3 separate regions of the Homo sapiens genome follow, and regions 1 and 3 are each linked to region 2. The links are contacts of gene promoters, found by promoter capture Hi-C in human tissues and cell types (Jung and others, 2019). All regions are on one chromosome and are shown on one strand. The core of a region is centred on a gene start or on the middle of the fragment in contact, and the rest is flanking DNA. Distances in the headings are between cores, read along the strand shown.

Region 1 (2,855 bases), core at 45-2,544, 270 kb after region 2:
TATGAAAATATCCTGTATATCCTTAATTTGGCAATATAAATGTGACCAATTGTTTTAAAAACAGAAGTGATGCTGGATATTAAAATGTAAACTGTTTTCTAAATGAAAAACTTAAAGGAATGTAATTAGAGAAGTATAAACAGTGGTTAATATGCTGCTTCTTGAAAAGACATATTACAACTTACAGTCTTTCTTCATAAGTGTATGTTGTTACTGTTTAATCAGGAGTGTGATTGTATTCAGCTGTTAAGCAATCCTATTAGCTGGGAAATTGCATTATTATTTGCTGGTCTGTTTATGTTATATTGTTGTTGGCACTCTAAGTTTCTCTTTTTTCTCCAAGCCTTTCTTACTCTGGTCTCTGTAATCTGTATAATTGTCTTTTTTAACTTTTATCTTTAGAAAATATTGAATAGAGATACTGGGAGTGATTAACTGTGTCAGAATCACAAAGTTCTAGTGCTTTTCAGATTAATCCTGGAGACATTATGTTGCTGTTTTAAAAGACAGAAGGACCTAGATCCATCATGGAGTGCCACAGCAGGGTTGTGGCCAATGGTCCTTCCTGCCTAGGGAGAATCCACAAATGGTATCTAGGAAGACCTGCTGCTGACCAGACCAAGGCCACTTCAGTGCATGACATCTTCTTGGACTCATCAACCTTGACCTCAATGGTCAGAGATCTCTCTACTAGTAATTCTAAGTGTTGGCAACAAAAATGAAGAGAGCAAAATAGGGAGTGCTCTCTATTCTGGGGAAGCAACAGTGGAAGATTTGCCTGAGTAAGAAAATCTCCTAAAAGTTTTCTGTGTCCATCTAAACATTCATACATTCATACATACTTCATTCCTTTGTTCATTCATTTATTTTCCTTGTCTTCTCATAGAATATGTTTTCTGAGATCAGGTTACTATGTTGCTGTTACAGGAAATCGGATTAATTTTAAATTTCTATATGCAATAAAACAAAAGCCTTTGACATCTCCCTTTTATTTTCAACAGTTAATGAGTTTAGAAGCTCATTGATACGGTTTGGCTGTGTCCCCACCAAAATCTCATATTGAATTCCCACGTGTTGTGGGAGGGACTCAGTGGGAGGTAATCGAATCATGGGGGCAGGTCTTTCCCATGCTGTTCTTGTGGTAGTGAATAAGTCTCATGAGATCTAATGGTTTTATAAAGGGGCGTTTCCCTGCATGAGCTCTCTCTCTTTGCCTGTCACCAGCCATGTAAGACAGGACTTGCTCCTCCTTGCCTTCCACCATCATTGTGAGGCCTCCCAAGCCACATGGAACTGTGAGTCCATTAAACCTCTTTTTGTGTATAAATTACCCAGCTCTGGTATGTCTTTATCAGTAGCATGAAAATGGACTCATACACTCAGTTTTAAAACAAGTTACATGAAGTTGCAGAGCTCTTTAAGAAAGCCATGACTTGCCCAGACAAATCAGTACTAGTGTGTTAACTGAACTCAATTTGATTTTTCTGGGCTTTGCTTTGTATTGGCCCCTTCTTGTTAAATAAAAATAAGAAATTAAATAAAAATGTTAACAAATAGTTTTGACAAAACTGAATATAATACACAAAACATTGTGATGCAGCTTAAAATTTAAAAAGAAAAAAAGAACAGCTTCAAGAGAATTAAGTACTAATTAAGTACTAAGAGAGCAATCATCAGAGCTAGATACAAAACATCTAATATCTTTTGAGAAACATTCCTTATGTTACCCAATTCTTCCTTACACATCTTACTGGCTAATTGAGAAAGCAATGCATTAAAATCACATTGAAATGAATTAATATGATAACTGGAAGCAATGAGAGGTAACTGAGACATAATTGCAAATGCAGAATTTTTTTCAATTTGAAATTGAACATTTAACAACCAATTTGGAATTTTCTATTTTTGAAAATCCAGTAGCTCTTGGAGTGAATAGACCAAATGACTCCATTTTAATAGGTCTCATCATTGATCTCTGCTTATGAAATTTGCTTCATTGCCTTTGTGTACCTGAGACTGAAATGCAGAGCTGTTCTGGAGCCTCCAGGTAGTCCAGGATTTCAGTGCAAACTTGTCTTACACAAAGAGGTCTGTAAAAATAATCTGGCTGCTATGATTTGAATGTCCTCTCCAAAACTCATGTTAAAGTTTAATTGTCTTTGTGATGGTATTAAGAGATGGGACCTTTAAGAGTTAATTAGGTCATGAGGGCTCTGCCTTCCTGAATAAGTTAATGCCATTATCATAGGAGTAAGTTTGTTATCTCGGGAATTCAGCCCCCTTTCTCTCTGTGTCTTGCACCTGCCTCACCATGTGATGCCTTCTGCCATGTTAGGATGTAGCAAGAAGGCCCTCACCACCTGTGGCCGTACAGTCTTGGACCTTCCAGCCTACAGGACCCTGAGACACACAAATCTCTCTTCTTTATAAATTACCTAGTCTATAGTATTCTATTACAGCAGCAAAAACAGACTAAGACACTGGTCTTTTACTTTTGATTTTGTTTCTATTGATTTTTACTAGGTACATCTAATTTCACCTCTTGAAGATGGCTGACATGGTCACTGAACTGAAGCTTTGTGGTGAAGAAACTATTAAGCAAATGGGGAGGAAGAGCCATACAATTTCACTTTAGTGAGGAGCTAAGAACTAATTTTATTCCAAAATCAAACTCATGCCAAAAACGGGCCAATGCAATCATTTAGGGATAAAGAACCTAGAGTTTCAGGCATGAGTGGAAATGTGCTGAGGGGTCCAGAACATGCCACTCCAAAAAAACCCTCCTTGGCATAAGGATTGTTTTGAGCTGAAGGCAATTGAGAATCAACAGATGCAGGAAAAATTCTCTACCCTTT
Region 2 (2,700 bases), core at 126-2,625:
AAAAAAAAAAAGTATACAGAGTAAATGTAACTTTTTACTTTTAGTCTAGGACTGAACAATACTAAGTTTTAAAAAATCTATAATATGTCATTTTTGTACATTATATTTTGGAAATGTACAAAATATTAGGAAAAGTGGTAATTTTGGCAAATGTAGGAGGCAGTACATCTTACAGTTAAAGAGGTCAAGAGAGCAACCACTTCGCAGTCAGAGAAACCAAGCCTCACCCCAGTTCCAATACCTCTTCAATGTGTCATCTTAGGAAAGTTACTCAATCACTATTGAGCCCCGTGACATCTCACATGTGAGGTACAGTGTTAAGCAGCATTTTATGGGCATTATTTACTAAAATTGTTATAAGATCCAAGTTATCATTCCCATCTCAAAGATGAAGAAACCAGGACTCAAAGCAATAAAGTGACCTGCTCAGTGCTGTGAAGCTAAGAAGTGGTGGGGCCCAGGAATGACTGATCAGCAGGACCCCGGGACCCCGCAAAGGCCTCTTGATGTCACTAAACCCAGCAAAAAACATCTAGTTCCAAAACGGGTCATTTTTCAGTGCTCCATTGTCTCCCTGAGTTTCCTCACCTGTAAAACGGGTGTAAGTGCTCAGAATCCCTATAAGAACCAAATGAGGTTGTAACATTTCCCACAATGCCTGGAATGTAGGAATTATTCTGCATCCCTAAGTTGCCACTTAAGAGATAAAAGAAATCAGCAAAAGGCTTTCAAAAATAAATGGTCCTTTGAAGTATGAAAATTCAAATCCAGGAAACTCACCAAGCATGGCCAAGGTGCGCATGATCATATACAGTTGGTCCACAGCTATACCTGGAAACAAAGTTAAAATCCATCGTGTGGAACATATTTGCAAGAAAGGACATTCGATTCTGAGTTATAATGATCATATAATTTTTAAAGTAATCACTTCTGGGGGATGAATAGCCGGGGTTTTCATACTTGCTCAATTCACACCCAAACCTGCAAAAGCACCGCGCACCCCCAGCTTCTAGAACGGCGCCCTCCATGCAGCTTCCTAAACGCCCTCCCCGAGCCCAGATCCCGTTCAGCCGTGGGAAGTCTCCGCCACGATCGGCCCCCGCCCGTGCCCCAGTCCCGCGCGGCCCACCAGGAGGCGGCTTCGGCGTGCGCCACGATTAGGGGTTCCTTCCTCCCGGTGAGGCTGTTGTACACCTGCACACCCGTCTCCCGGCCCGTGGGCTGCAGCCAGGCCCGCCCGCGCCCCCCGCTCGCCGCCCGGCCCGCAGGCCAGTGCCACCCAGCCCGCCCAAGGCCCAGCGCGGCCTGGAGCAGCGGGGGGCCCAGGCCTGGGCCGCGCGTAGTCCTCAACATGTCAGCGGCCAGCGCCTACGACTGGGCGGAGACGGGAGCCACGCCGGGTACGCTGCCGGTCGCTCAAGAGCAGCACGGCCCCGCCCCGCCCCGCCCACGCCCTTGGGGCCACGCCCACTCCCGGAAGCAGTCCTCAGGTAGCGCCTCCCTTTGGCCTGGCTCGAGTCGCCCGCGGCAAGGGTGGAGAACCAGGGCCCGAAGAGGTTGGGGCGGGGAAGGCCCGGGGTGGAGGGAGGAGGGCGGTGCCGCGCCGGGAGGCCGTGGGAAGAGGCGGTACCGTGCCGATCTCCTCTCCTTATTAGCCCAGGTCCTGCGAGGCGTCCGTGTGCGCGCGGTACCAGCCTGGAGCTGTGTCCGCCGCGCGGGAGGAGCGTTTACAGTGCAAGCTTCTGTTGCCGGGCCCTGGCCTGTTAGCGAAGCACGTGTGCATCCCAGCACAGCCCACGTCAGCACGCTAATACACAGTGTCCACCCCAGAACACACGTCAGCACCCCAATACAGTGTGCACCCCAATACAGTGTGCACCCCAAACACACATCTGCGCCCCAATACAGTGTGCACTGCAGCACACCGTTAGCATCCCAACACAGTGCACCCCGATACACAATGTGCAACCCAACACACAGTCTGCACCCCAAGAAGTGTGCACCCCAATACACAGTATGCACCCCAGCACACACATCAGCATCCCAATACAGTGTGCACCCCAATACAGTGTGCACCCCAGCACACACATCTGCACCCCAATAGTGTGCACTGCAGCACACCATCAGCATCCCAACACAGTGCACCCCGATACACAGTGTGCAACCCAGCATACAGTCTGCACCCCAATACACAGTATGCACCCTAGCACACACCACATCAGCATCCCAATACAGTGTGCACTCCAATACAGTGTGCACCCCAGCACACACCATGTCTGCACCCCAGTACAGTGTACACCCCAATACAGTGTGCACCCCTAATACACTGTGCACTCTAACACACACCATGTCTGCACCCCAGTACAGTGTGCACCCCAACACAGCACATGTGCATCCCAGCAAACACTGTCTGCATTCCAATGCAATGTGCACCTCAATAGAGTGTGCGCCCCCACACATCTACACCCCAATACAGTGTGCACCCCAATACACAGTGTGCAACCCAACACACACCATGTCTGCACTCCAATACACAGCATGCCTCCCCCACCATGATCCCGTATCTTGAGAACAAAAACATTCTGAAAGTTACTCACAATAGCTTGACAAACGTGCCTCTATTGGGCCAGGCGCAGTGGCTCACACCTGTAATCCCAGCACTTTGGGAGGCTGAGGCGGATGGATCACCTGAGGTCAGGA
Region 3 (2,700 bases), core at 110-2,609, 320 kb after region 2:
ATTAGAATTAATAAGTGAGTTTAACTAGTTTATGGGTGCAGGGTCAACATTTTTTTTTAAGACGGGGTCTCATTCTGTCACCCAGGCTGGAGTGCAATGGCATGATCAGAGCTCACTGCAGCCTTGACCTCCAGGGCTCAAGCAATCCTCTTACCTCAGCTTCTGGAGTAGATGGGACTACAGACGCATGCCACAATGCCCGGCTATAGGGTCAATGTTTTTAAAAAAACAGCAGTTGTGCTTCTGTACACGAGTAACAAACAGAAACATGAGTAAAAACATCAGCTGTCAAATGTATTTAACAGGAGGTGTGCAAAGGTTCTGTGCAGAAACAGCATTACTGCGAGAAATAAAGAAATTCTAAATAAATGGAGGGAGATGCTAAATTGGGAAGATGATGTCATAAAGGAGTTAATTCTCTCTAAAATGATGCTTAGATAGCTGAAATTGCAATGCAAATATCAAAAGATTTTTACAGGCTGTTGTGTGGGAATGACCTTGATGCAAGGGTGGTCTCAAGGTCACTGTCAGGCAGGCGTTCCCAGAGGCCTTTGACGTACTGAGTCTCTCACACATCTTTGCCGGTTGAGATGTGTAACTGAAAAATCCCTGCCCAAAACAAGAGTGTTGGGGTCATGTGAAAGGATTCCTTTGTTCATACCCATGGGATCCACGATGTGGCCTCAAGTTACATATAAACCTTTGTGCTGGTAGAAGAATGATGATAGTTAATGCTCGCTGAGTACTTACAAGGATGGCAGTACTTTAATCTTTTCACGTTATGCGTGCCACTCGCATGACATGTACACACACCAGCTCATTTACTCTATGTATACTGCTTTGATTCTGAAATCTTGCTCAATACTGTAACACAAAATGCACCGAGGAGAGGTGCTAGAGAGTTAGGAACTGCATCTTCAAGTGGAAAAATACCAAAACTCCATAAAATATGTCAAAGAGGTTTATTCTGAGCCAACATGAGTGACCGCAGCCTGGGGAAAACACAAACCCAAGAAGCCCTGAGTGGGTGGTTTCGAGGCAGTCGGTATGCAACTCATACATTTCAGGGAGGCAGGAGGTACAGGCAAAGTCATGAATCAATACCTGGAGGTTATACTTTGGCTTGGCACAAAAAGGTGAGATATCTTGAAGTGGCGGCTTACAGATCATAGGCGGGATTAAAGATTCTTTGATGTGCAGTTGATTAAAAGAACAAAGCTTTCTCTGAAAACTCGGAGTCAGCAGAAAGGCATATTTAAGTTGAGATCAGGACTTCTGCTCATCATCATGGGGTACTACGCTGGAGCCAGGTTGCAAGTGCAAACCACAAGACACTGGAAGAAAATGACCTGTTTAGCAAGATTGACAGTCTGCAGAGATGACTCCTCCAGGCCCCTTAGGAAGGAATTTTGAATAAAGAGAAAAAGTTCAGGTCTCAGACTCCTAAGGCAGCATGTGGCTTTAGTCCCAGGGCCAAGAGCAAGGGTGGCCCTTGCTGATGCCTCCGAGGCCCTGTGTGCCCTCTGAGGCTGGTTGAGGGCAGCTTGAGAAGAGTCTGTGCTTTATCTGGATGATGAGGAAGCCTGGCAGCGTCCTCTTTTGGAAGATCCCCACAGAGGCCCTGCAGAGGTATAGTCAGGCCAGCATGCTGGAGAGCCAGGAGAAAAGCCAGCAGGCACTGAGCTAAGGCTGTGTAATAGGCTGGACAGGAGGGGAGAGATTTGGGAGAAATTTAAGAAGCAGGCTGGGCGCGGTGGCTCATGCCTGTAATCCCAGCACTTTGGGAGGCCCAGGAAGGCGGATCACAAAGTCAAGAGATCGAGACCATCCTGGTCAACATGGTGAAACCCTGTCTCTACTAAAAATACAAAAATTAGCTGGGCATGGTGGTGCGCGCCTGTAGTCCCAGTTACTTGGGAGGCTGAGGGAGGAAAATCGCTTGAATCTGGGAGGCGGAGGTTGTAGTAGCCGAGATTGCACCACTGCACTCCAGCCTGGTGACAGAATGAGACTCCGTCAAAAAAGAGAGAGAGAAAGAGAGAGAAAGAAAGAGAGAGAGGGAGGGAGGGAGGAAGGAAGGAAGAAAGGAAGGAAGGAAGGAGGAAAGGAAGAAAGAAATTTAAGAAGCAAAATTCGCAGGACTTGGTGATCTAGTGGGTGTAAACATTGCAAGGAAAAAGCCATTTAAGATGAATTCCAAGTGACCGGCTGAAATGTGCAACGGATATTCACTTTCTAAATAGAGTGCGCAGGAGGGGGTGTTTGGGTGGAGAAAATGGGGAGATGATTGGGTGCCTGTGAGCTGCAGTGTGGAGCACTCACGTGCCATAGAGATGCCGGGCAGGGTCGGGAGACTGGGCTCAGCAGCTCGGGGGTGCCGAGGTGGTAGCATCCAGGAGACCACCTGGGAGCGTGTGTCCAAGGGAAGTGGACTCCTTCCCCCCACCACACTCTTCTCTCTGCTGCAGGGACAGCCCCCAGAACAGTTCTTCTGTGGAAGGTTCTGAAAGACCCAAGACAGGTCAGTTCTCCATGGAACGTGGAAAAGGCTACTAAAAAGTACAGGCGCGTATTACTTAGAATCTGGTTTGGGGGACACGAAGCAGAAGGAAAAGCACGACATTGTAAAACAGATATGACTGTTGCGCCCATTGCTAAATTATACAGTGTGCCACAAGGGTCAAAAGGATGGTCCGTGAA

Evidence for each region. The method cuts DNA at HindIII sites, captures the fragments that hold promoters and counts their contacts. A contact is called where the count stands out against the background at its distance.
Region 1: a fragment that was not itself captured here is called in contact with the fragment with the promoter of CARS2 in region 2 in 1 of the 25 tissues and cell types used here (heart right ventricle).
Region 3: a fragment that was not itself captured here is called in contact with the fragment with the promoter of CARS2 in region 2 in 1 of the 25 tissues and cell types used here (dorsolateral prefrontal cortex).

What each region holds. Positions count from the first base shown.
Region 1 is chr13:110,973,999-110,976,853 of GRCh38, forward strand. All of the region lies in intron 1 of LINC00431 (long intergenic non-protein coding RNA 431), which reads left to right. LOC124903213 (a long non-coding RNA gene) reads left to right here and starts at 2,213. Exons shown (of 2, transcript XR_007063875.1): 1 at 2,213-2,634. The HindIII fragment of the contact is 4,834 bases long and covers 1-2,855 here.
Region 2 is chr13:110,704,741-110,707,440 of GRCh38, forward strand. CARS2 (cysteinyl-tRNA synthetase 2, mitochondrial) reads right to left here and starts at 1,376. Exons shown (of 15, transcript NM_024537.4): 1 at 1,130-1,376; 2 at 781-831. The coding sequence starts at 1,353. RefSeq lists a silencer at 1,184-1,743 and enhancers at 1,794-2,173, 2,184-2,303. The HindIII fragment of the contact is 14,015 bases long and covers 1-2,700 here.
Region 3 is chr13:111,026,999-111,029,698 of GRCh38, forward strand. No RefSeq gene overlaps it. Among named protein-coding and RNA genes, the nearest start is that of LINC00431, 62 kb to the left of the region's middle. The HindIII fragment of the contact is 3,515 bases long and covers 1-2,700 here.